2 separate regions of the Homo sapiens genome follow, and region 2 is linked to region 1. The links are contacts of gene promoters, found by promoter capture Hi-C in blood cells and fetal thymus (Javierre and others, 2016). All regions are on one chromosome and are shown on one strand. The core of a region is centred on a gene start or on the middle of the fragment in contact, and the rest is flanking DNA. Distances in the headings are between cores, read along the strand shown. Region 1 holds the start of ALKBH8 (alkB homolog 8, tRNA methyltransferase). Region 2 holds the start of EXPH5 (exophilin 5).

The links. Contacts are between HindIII fragments. The CHiCAGO score rates a contact against its expected background, and 5 or more counts as called.
Region 2: a contact is called between the fragment with the promoter of EXPH5 here and the fragment with the promoter of ALKBH8 in region 1, in 2 of 17 cell types (monocytes and non-activated CD4 T cells). The highest score is 6.8, in monocytes.

What each region holds. Positions count from the first base shown.
Region 1 is chr11:107,562,269-107,567,839 of GRCh38, forward strand. ALKBH8 (alkB homolog 8, tRNA methyltransferase) reads right to left here and starts at 3,467. Exons shown (of 12, transcript NM_138775.3): 1 at 3,333-3,467. RefSeq lists enhancers at 2,818-3,336, 3,140-3,629, 3,337-3,853, 3,700-3,759. The HindIII fragment of the contact is 7,705 bases long and covers 1-5,374 here.
Region 2 is chr11:108,590,876-108,596,328 of GRCh38, forward strand. EXPH5 (exophilin 5) reads right to left here and starts at 2,893. Exons shown (of 6, transcript NM_015065.3): 1 at 2,543-2,893. The coding sequence starts at 2,661. RefSeq lists silencers at 2,370-2,429, 2,710-2,759, 2,780-3,079. The HindIII fragment of the contact is 3,661 bases long and covers 991-4,651 here.

The sequences.
Region 1 (5,571 bases), core at 2,217-4,716:
AGCCTGGCAACAGAGTGAAATTCCATCTCAAAAAAAAAAAAAAAGTATGTAAACTGGAAAAGTTGGGAAGGCCTCAAAACAGGAGATTTGTGCCATGTACTGAAGGATAAGAACACTATAGAATCAAATAAAAAGGAAAGTATTCAGTGAGGCAGTAAAGAGCAGAAGCTAAAACCAAAATGGACATGTTTGGCCAAGACACCAAGACACAGGCATAATTTTTTTAGACCGGTCCCACTCTCTGCGGACTTTAAAGTCTTCAAAGTCAACCAAATATACAAATTTGGGGGTTAAATAAAATCTTATTTATCTTATTTCACATGAAATCATAAACAGTCAAAATTCTAATTACTAATCTTTAGTATAGAAGACAAATGCCAAGTCTCTTAAAATGCCAGCAGTCCAGCTTCCTAGCACAGGGGGTACATACTAGGATGTAAGGCCAGTGAGGCAGGCAGGCTGGCTGGCAGCATAGCAGAGAGATGAGAGGTAAAAAAAATAATAATAATAATCCAGCTTGTTAATTAGAAATGCTGGCCTGATCTAGGCTGGGGGCAACAGAAAGAAGCGAAATAGGGGGAGAGGAGAAAGAGGAAGGGTGAGTGAAAAGTTCAGGCGGAATCAAGAGGCCTCGATGACTACCCAGATATGAGGGAGACAGGAATCAAAGATTACTTGTTAACCAGTTAGAGGCTGAGTGACTAAGAGATGAGTGCTACCACTTCAAAACTGGAAAGTCAGGAGGAGGTTCAGGAAGAGCTGCTCAGTATAGGAGGTAATGAGTCATATTTAGGATAGAATAATGTTTAAGGTATTGTGAGATACAGAGTTGCAATGTCTGGCTGGCAAGTGACAAAATAAAGTGGCTCCTAGGAAAGGAACTGAGGTTAAAAAGGTTTAGGAGTCAGTCGTCATTAAGACAGGAAGGGGATAAGTGAATGGACATGTCTAACATTGCATTAATTATAATTATTTGTTTTAGTATCTGTCCCCTTCCACTGAACTGTGAGCTTTCTGAAGGCGGGATTAAATCACACTTTTCTTAGTTACCACAGAGCCTCATTCAGTGCTATGAGGTAATATAATACAGTGTTTAGGAGTCCATGTTCCAGGTTCAAATCTCAGCTCAACCACTGATTATTAGCTGTATAATCCTAGATGAGTTGGTTATATAGCTCTGTGTTCCAGTTTCTTTATCTAGGAATAGGGATAAAAATAATAGTGCCTATCCCATAGCTTTCTTAGAATTAAATTTATTTATTATTATTTATTTATTACTGTTGATTTTCAGAAGCAGCAGATCAAAATGGCTTAACAAAACAAAGAATATCTGAGGCCCTTCAAAGGAGCTATTTTAGAGCCATTCCATTTCAAGATCTTCATCTGTGGAACAGCAACTTTGCAGTATGTCATGGAGAACAAGGGATGACTGCACTACAGAATTTTTAATATTTCACATGAGCAAACACTGCAAAGAAGGAATGAGAAAGAAACGATGCTAAATATATCTTTTTAAAATGTCTGCCACTAAGAGTCCAGCACCAGCAGGTGGAGCCTCATAACCACATTTTTGTCATCCCTTTCCTTTTTCTCTCCCTCAGTCATGCAATATTATTGCACGTGAAGAAAGACACTAAATGGCCTTTGAGGCTCAGTTTTCCACCATTCCAGTGGCTAGGCAATGTGCTGGCCCAACATATCTGAGTCATCTCAACAAGGATAGGCTGATACCAGCTGCTGAGGTCTGGAGGTGCCCCCTTCTGACAAAGCCACTTCCCTGGCCAGAGTTTCCACTAATGCACAGATACTTGGATGCTCCCTGTGACATTACTGGAGTGAAGTCACTATTAACTATGATACTAGCCATGCTGAGTCCGGTTCAGCCAGCTCCAGCCTAAGCGTACTCTCTGTGGGATAATGAAAGTTTGGAGATTATGCATGCTCTGCTACTTGCTTGTTAGTGAGTTTAAAGCCAATATATCCTACTAGATATTGCCCTACGTGGTAATAGTAGTATGTACATCATGCCCTCCTTGAATAATAGAGAGCCTATTATGAAACAAGCAGTATAGACAAATGTTCCTATACTTATATGTTTAAAAAAATGCAAAAACCATGATTACTTTTGCACAACCTAATAATTAATAGCAAAGATTAGAAAGAATCTAACTTCCTATCAAACGAGGCCCAATTTTAACGTACGGCACTGGTATACAGAGTTTACATATAAATCTTTAGGACACACAAGAAATTGGTGATATGGGTTGCCTCCAGGGAAGGAAAATGGATCGATGAGTAAAGGAATGAAAGGGAGCTTTCTTCTTTCATGACTTTTGAAGTTAGTAGCTATTTAAACTGCATCATCTATTTAAAAAGAAAATAAAGATTTAAAATTTTTAGAAAAAAATTCACCCCATCACTTGTCACGGCACCCCGTTTTAACTCTTTGAATAACACTTACTACATATTTTCTTACACTCTCATTAATTTGTTTATTCTGTCTTTCCCCATAACTGAATAAAGAACACTCACTCCATGAAGTAGAGATTTTGTCTCTATTGTTCACCCTGTAGCACCCAGCACTTAAACAGGATTTAGCACCTAGCAGCCACTCAATAACCATTTGTCGAATAAACCTAAATCGACTTTGCTGTCTTACCTCCTAAACCTCCCCTCCTCCAGAATTCTGAGTTTGGTGGCCTTCTTCAACGTTTTCATTAACACCTAGCATGGACCTCTATCTCTAGAGTTCTCACATGGTATTATAATTGCCTGTTTGTGTTGGGCTTCGGCCAGAAAACTGTCATCTATTTAAGGGCACAGACTTGGTGCCTGACATACAACTGACAATAAATATTCAATGAAATCTATCAAAATAACAGGCTGACGCTACCAGAGGTCCAGGAGTCGCAGGGATTGCTCAAATAAGAGCACAGGAAGACTCAGCTGCGCAAGGGATCAGATCATCAGCACTGCCTTTGCATCGATGCAATCAGACCGATTGTCACCGGTCAGAAAAGCCCCAGAAGCGCCACACTAACACGCCCCATGTTGCAACCGTCCTCTCCAACCCCAAAGAAAACAGAAGATTGACACAGGCACCACGTGAGCGCCCGAACCAAACACAAACACATGCACCCTAAACACTGAGAGAACCACCCAACGCAGACACCCTACTGCCCACACTGCACCAAGGGCGCCTCTGGGATCCATCCCCTTTCCCTAGGTTCTCAGCCCTAGCTGGCAAGGCGGATAGAGAAGACCGGAAGAGGCTGAAAAGAGGAAGCGGTGATTTGCTGCCCGTATGCCCGCCAGTAAGAAGTGCCACACACCTCCGCTTCGGCTCAGGCCGGATTCTCACCATGCGTGTGCCTTCTTCTTTGCCAGCCTCTCCACTCTAGCACCAGAACACCGCAGCGGATACTTGCACGCCATCTCCCCTGGGCGCGGCCATGTTGGAGAAAACTGCACTACATTTCCCATGAGCCCGCGGGACAACGAACAGCGCTCCCACAGTCCTCTTCGCCTCCCAGAGCCCGGGAGTGACCCTTTTTCGACCAAGTGTCTTTGTAAAGTGCTGTCTGTTACACTGAAAATTCAGTTGTCTTTTTGGGGGGAGTAGTAATAATTGGTAGTGCAGCTATATTTTTATCTGTTGCTCTCCAAATGGACAAGGTCAAACAGGTTTGGGCCCTTTGGTCTTTCAGCAATGTCCCCTGGCACCTTCTATTCTTCGTGCATATTTCCTCCTGAATCTTATTAGAGGTGAGAAAGGAAAATAAATCTTGGTGCCACAAAATCACTAAGCTAAAGGGAAAAGTCAAGCTAGGAACTGCTTGGGCAAACCTGCCTCCCATTCTATTCAAAGTCATCCCTCTGAGTCATCCCTCTGCTCACTGAGATAAATGCATATCTGATTGCCTCCTTTGGAAAGGCTCATCAGAAACTCAAAAGAATGCAACCATTTGTCTCTCAGCTGTAATACGTGCGACCTGGAAGCCCCCTCCTCACTTTGAGTTGGCCCGCCTCTGCTTCAATTTGTCCCTCCTTTCTGGACGGAACCAATGTTCATCTTACATATATTGATTGATGCCTCATGTCTCCCTAAAATGTATAAAACCAAGCTGTGCCCCGACCACCCTGGACACATATCATCAGGACCTCCTGAGGCTGTGTCACGGGCGGGCGTCCTTAACTTTGGCAAAATAAATTTCCTAAATTGTCTGAGACCTGTCTCAGATATTCAGGGTTCACAGAGATATGGGAGAGGATCCTGGGGTCTGAAAGATGGCATTGCATGGGCGGGAGGGAAGGAAGTGAATATGCATGAATGTGCCAGGGGAATGGTGAGTACCACAGAGTAATAGAAAGATGTGTGGAAGAATGGTGAAGGAAGCAAGACAGAATTCTGTAGGCCTGCAGAGTGGGAGTTGCAGGGAGGAAGGTTAGAGAAATGAAATGATATGACCAGAGCTTCTTGTGGCAAGTGGGAGGAGAGACTAGAAGATGACTGATGAAGTGAAAAGTAACGAAATATTAACAAGCCCAGTAGTGGCAGAGGGAAAGAAAAAAGAGCTGGTAACAGATCATAAGTAAAAGACAAAGGAGAGGGTGATGATTAGCAGTTGTTCCTGCTCTGTTATTTGTTATATAAATGTACCATAATCCTTCTACCTGCATTGGTTTATGAGCTATGTGAGTGCAGGGAGGGAAAGGTGTAGGGGAAGAGGAATCACCTTCCCATGTTGTTGATACAATGGCCCCTATCTGCAGTGCACCACAGTGGACTAACAATAAAATAGCTGGCTGACCAGGAAAAGTGGCAGTGAAAAAAGAGTGCTGTTGAGTGGCGGAATGATTTGTGTGGAGAATAGGTTACAAACATGAAAGAACAGAAGAGGCAGATAGGCAAGCATTGCAATAGTCTAGGAAAGAAAGGGTGAGACCAAAACTTAATAGTAAAAATGAGGAGGCAAGTGCAAGCTGGAGAGGTCAAATCCACCAGACATTGCAAGCTACATGAGTATAAGAGGACACACAGGAAATCTCCCCATTGCAATTCTGCTTCTGCACTACTGGATGCTTTCAAAAACACATCCCCATAGAGCTTTCTGCAATGATGGAAATATTTTATAGTTTGAGCTGTCCAACATAATAGACACTAGTTAACGTGTGGCTTATGAGCATTTCAAATGTGGCTAGTATGACTAAGGAAATGAATTTTGAATGTTTAAATTTTAGTTTCAATTAAACTTAAGTAGCCACAAGTGGCCGGTGTCTACCAAACTGGATAACAGTGTAAAATATCCTCTTATCTCTTACTGATCAAATTCAATTACTTCATCTCAGTATTTGTCCTGCTTTAAGGTGCTGAAGCTTTTAAAACTTTTTTTCTGCACCTCTCTTTTAATTCTCTTTATACGATCTGATCACTTACTTTCAGAATTTTCCACTAGTTTCTCTCACTCTGTCCGTAATTAAATATAGGCAATCCCTCAGATTTTGAGTTTGACTCTTTTCTGTTATTCTAGTCTCTTCCTGTCTGCCCTCCCCAGAGTTATAAAGAGATTT
Region 2 (5,453 bases), core at 1,643-4,142, 1.0 Mb after region 1:
CTCTTGGCCTCAAGCGATCCTTTTGCCTCAGTCTCCCAAAGCACTGGGATTACAGGCGTGAGCCACCGGGCCCAGCCCCAACTATAGGGTGCCTGTATTTCTTCTTAGTTGTCTTGCAGATACCTCAAGCCTATCATAGATATAAATGAACTCATCAGCCATTCCCCAACCTGCTAAATTTCTAAACTTCCCCATTTGGACCCTTATTGTTCTAGTCAAGAGGTCTTGAAGCTCTTTCTCAATACAGTAAAAAGGCTTCCCTGAGTCTCTCAGACAGGCCTGTTGAAGCATCTCTTTTTTGTTGTTGTTCACATATGCCAAGCCAGAACAGAATGAAATTATACTCTTGAGTTATAAGTCATGTGTCCTGATTTTTGATTTGGAAAATATGATCACACATATCAAGAAAATGAGCAGAAGAGGCAGCCAAGTTGCCATGTTGTCTCAGGCCCTTTCTGCATGCCAATATCTGATACTGAAATTAATACATGTGAGCCTGAAGTGGGTAAGCAGAACAATCCCATGGAGCCTGCAAGCCAGACATGGGTATTTGATAGTGGAAGTGGGGAATTAATCAAAGGAAAAGACAGTACTAGAAATCATTGCCTTGGGTATTTGGTCCACACATCTACTTTCCTTAAATGATTTTTGTATTTTAATGGTGATATTTTTCAAATTGTTTGGGCAATTAAATACTTTTAATAATTAGTATAATACAGTATCGATTTTGTCTTAGCATTATGGCTTTTTCTGTTGATGCTTCCATTAGAATATGAGTGCCATGAAATTAGAAAATGTGTTTTGACCTTCCTTCTAATGCCCAGCCCAATGGCTTTGTGTAGATACACGTGCTTTGTGTAGATCTATGTGGAGATCCAGTTCCCTCTAAAGTCAACTGCAGTGGGCATCGTGAGTTGCAATAGAGAAAACACAATAAGGCAAGCAAGCATCAGGTCAAAAATAAAAAGTCAAGATAACATCTTAAATGAAAGCTTCTCTCCTTGTTATTTTCTAACTCTCCCCTCAATTTCCCCAAATATACAATGGATCACTTAAGAAGCCCCATCCTCTTCAGAGACAAGAAACATTTCCAATAACACACACTGAGAATAACCGCAGTTTCTTAGTGCCTTTGGAATATGCACTGAAATTCCGTGCAGTTCTGAAATTCTTCTTCTGAAAGTTGGGTGTGCCTTGTGCGGTGCATGTGCATATGTGTAGGTACATTATGCACGTGGGTGTGTGTGGGTGTGGCATACTGTTCTCCTGAAGGCACACTTTCTACACTGTTCAGGGGAGGGGAATGATAAAGCCACTTTTTCTCAAGGCAGATGGTATGAAATCCATATTCCCCAACCTCAAATATTCCTTCATCCCTCAAAGAGTCATGTTTAGGGGAGAAGGGTGAAGTCAGGGCATTGGGCTTAGTGTATTCTAATTCTTTCTACAAAGACCAACTAGATTTTCCAATTTGAAGAGGGTCCCTGGAGGGTTTCTTTTGTCGGCGGTGGGGGACAGGCAATTCTAGAAAGAATTGGGAACCTGGAACTCGCATTAGCAAGCAGTTGATCATAAAACAAAATGACTTGCTAAATTCCAATCAATGGCACACAGTGTGGTCTGAGAGTGATGTCCTGAATTCCCTTCCACAGTTATCTAGAGAAGGACTTAGATGGATATATTCCAATATTGGCGAGAGAGTCCCTTTAATTCATTCCAGCACTTATCCCACACTTCCCCAGCAGAAAAACTGGTTAATGTACATCCTGGGTAATTATCTGTGTCTCTGGATTTCATTCTTTAGTAACTAATCCCTCACCTACAACAGTGTATAGTAAGGTCAAGGATGAAATTTCTCAGAAACTCGCTCCCCACAGCACCACGCACAAGAAGACCCACCCATTCCAGCCAACCCCGTGTGTCCAAGTCCCATTCGCCCACATAAGCCTCTATTTGACAAATTCCTCGAGCTCCTACCCTTGGGGTGGGGACCTTTCGCCTCCCGTGAGGTGCCGGCTCTCCCGTGCTTCGCTGACTGCCCGCATTGGGTGGGGAGATTCGCCTCTGGTGCCGAGGGAAAACTGCGTTAGGCGAGGGTGGAAGCTCTGTCGGACCCGTGCGAGCACGTGGGTGCGCGCGGGCCGCGGAGTGAGCAGCAGCCAGGATTCCTCTCCAGATCGCGCCCCCGCCGCATTTCATTGCCTGAAACGGCCCACGCCCCGCGATGGCCCAGCAGACACCCGGCACAGCACAGCGTCACTGCGCGGCCCCCGCAGCGCACGGACCCCCCCACCCTGCCCGACCCCAGACCCGCAGCCGAGCCCGTCTGGTATGTGGTGGGTGGAGAGGGTACCAACTAAGCATCCCAAAGTCCTTCAGGGAGCAACTCCGCGCAGTTTTCTCTTCCCGACCCGCAGCCTCCGCAGCAGCCGCTCGGAGCACCCCCGGGCAGGTGCCCCGCGCGAGCTCAGCGCCTTCCCCGCGGATCCCCGGCCCCTGCGGGACCCAGGCCCAGGACAAAAGAAATGAATTTGCTCTGTACCTGATCCTGTCCTTCTCGGCCCTCTGTAACTCCTCATTCCTTTCCAGCACCTGAAGGATCTTCCTGGCCTCTTCGTCATTTAAGAAACTGAAATCAAACGCCGGAGGAACTTTCGTCATTTTCTTTACTGTGTGTGAGTTACACTTAAGCTCCTTGGCGCCTCCTGTTAGGAAGGCATTTTTCAACCTGTACAAGACCAGTTTCACGAACTTGATCCCACAGCCAATAATAAGTCCGCCCCTTTGAAAGTCTAAAACCACAAACCTAGGGAACGCCCACACCTGAAGGGCTCATATTGACAATACCTTAATGACATGTTTCTCTCAACCTGTCCAACCGAGATGCAAAGTGAACGGCTAAAGGGAGAGAGGGAACCAATCCCGTTCCAAGGGGGCGGGCCCTCCCTTGTCCCCTCCCTCGTCCCCTCCCTCGTCTCGTCCCGTCCCTCGTCCCCTCCCTCGTCCCCTCCGGTCACCCTCCCCGCCCCCTATCTGAGTTGTTAAGCAAACAAGCCTACATAATTCTGCCTCTTAAGTGAGGCAAGGCTAAGTGTTGGCGCCAAAGTATTTGCTTTTGCTGTTGCTGTTTGCTCGCAGAACTTGAGCTTGATTAGTAAAGGAGTGAAAAAGGAGATTCATGACTAATCCTCCCTTTCAATAATTAAGAGCCCATAGAAAATAGAATTGCAAGTAGGGTTTGTAACTGGCAAAAGGGTTACTTATCTGAAAGACCAGGAAGAACTAAACTCAATTACACTACTGACTGTGGATGAACCTGGCTGAAGGGCGGAAATTAGTGTATCCTTGGAAACGAATTATTTGCCAAGCCTCTCATCCCACAGACACCCCCACCTCCACTGTCCCACAAAAGTCATTCTTAGACTTTAGAAACAAACAAACAAACAAACAAAACCGTTTATGGTATTTTAGGAGAAGACAGCCCAGAAGCAAAGGACTGTAGAAAACACCTGTTAGAAGTTTTCTGTAAGATTTTATTATCATCTTAATAAACTCAGAGAAGTAATACACATGCCATTTAAAAATACCTAATCCTCTGGTGAAAGCAAATGGTAATCCTATGAAGCCACAGAAATAGCTTTCCTAGAAAGTCAATTGTTCCACAATGCAATGAAGAATAATAGAAACTTATAAAGATATTCACATATATACTTTTTTTTTAATTATCAAGGCTTTTACAGAAAACATGTTTTTATCTTGGCTTCACTTCCTACCCAAAAATAACTCTGTCAGATTGACTTTCCTGCCCCATAGCCTTAATTTGGTCATTTTGAAGATGGTGGTGATGATTACTAACATATAAAATGTACTTCTACATATATCATTTCTTTTCATGGCACATAAACCCAATTAAAATTTTGTATCTGTACAAGAACATGATATCAAAAATTGCCACTTGTGTTTTGTTCTCTGGGCTACCCCATTTGATCATCATTATTTAAAACATGCCTAGGCAGCTAGCCATTCAGATAACTTTCTGTGGGTGTCTGTTATTTGTGTGAACCAGGAACCAATTTTGTTCACCCATGGTGTACACAATACAGAACTCCTTTATAAATAGTGTCTGTATTAATGATCCTGTTTTGGGAGTATGTCTTGTATATGGTGTCCAGTTTTTCTAGTGTGTTCATTTATTCAGCATACACATGGGACTTTTCAATATGGTCACTGGTGGGATTTTACACTGTTTCCAGTATATCAGTGAACTGATTTCAACCAACGTATCCTGGTGCCTATTACATGAAGGCATCACACACTGTGAACAACACAGTCCTTGTCTTTAGAAAGTTTGTAATCCAGTGGGAGAGATACACAAATAGAAAGATGACTATGTAAAAAAGAACATAATAGAGGAATAAAGAAAATTCCATGAGCACACAGAAAAGTTAGTGCCAACTGAGTGGATGGAGAGAGGATACGGTATTTAGGTTGCTGCATGAAGAGTCAGATTTCAAGAGGAAGAAATAGGGGGTGGTGGGAGGAGATGTGTGAGTCTATTCTAGGCAAGGGGATCAGCGTGCTGAATAGCAGAAGTACAGTCTAGGAATCTTCTCATATTCCCTCAACCTCTTTAATGGCCAGACTGAACAAAAGCTTGGAAGCTAGAAAACACTGGAGCATGTTCATGGATTGTTAAGTGATCTGTTTTGGCAGAGCATGTAGTCTCCACAGGGGTAAAATCTTCCTCTTTTTATGTAGAAAGCACAAATCTACACATGATACACAGATACACAGTATATCTGAAGTATTAACATTGCACAAGGGAGGTGATTGTGAAAAAAGTTCTAAAAAGGTGCATTGTGGGGACAGTAGTGAGAAAGAGGTTTAGAAACACTGGGCTAGTGCTCAGAGCACAGTGAGCTGAAAGGTAGGCTGAGCTCTGACTATGAATGCCATGTGATGAAATCTAGACTTCATTGTGTAAGCACTGAGGAGCTAATACAGGTTTTGAGGGTGATAATGATACAGTTAAAATTGAACTTAAGGCCGGGCACAGTGGCTCACATCTGTAGCCCCAGCACTTTGGGAGGCGGAGGCGGGCAGATCACGAGGTCAGGAGATTGAGACCATCCTGGCTAACACAGTGAAACCCCGCCTCTACTAAAAATACAAAAAATTAGCCCAGCATGTGCACCTGTAGTCCCAGCTACTCGGGAGGCTGAGGCAGGAGAATCGCTTGAACCCGGGAGGCGGAGGTTGCAGTGAGCCGAGATCACACCACTGCACTCCAGCCTGGGCAACAGAGTGAGACTCTGTCAAAAAAAAAAATTGAACTTTGGGTAGATTACTCTGATAGCAGTAGACAAGAAGAGTAGAGTGAAGATGGCATCAAGGAAACCATTGTGTTGGAATGCTGATGCAGGAGAAAGGGAAAGAGGACCCAACCAAAGGCA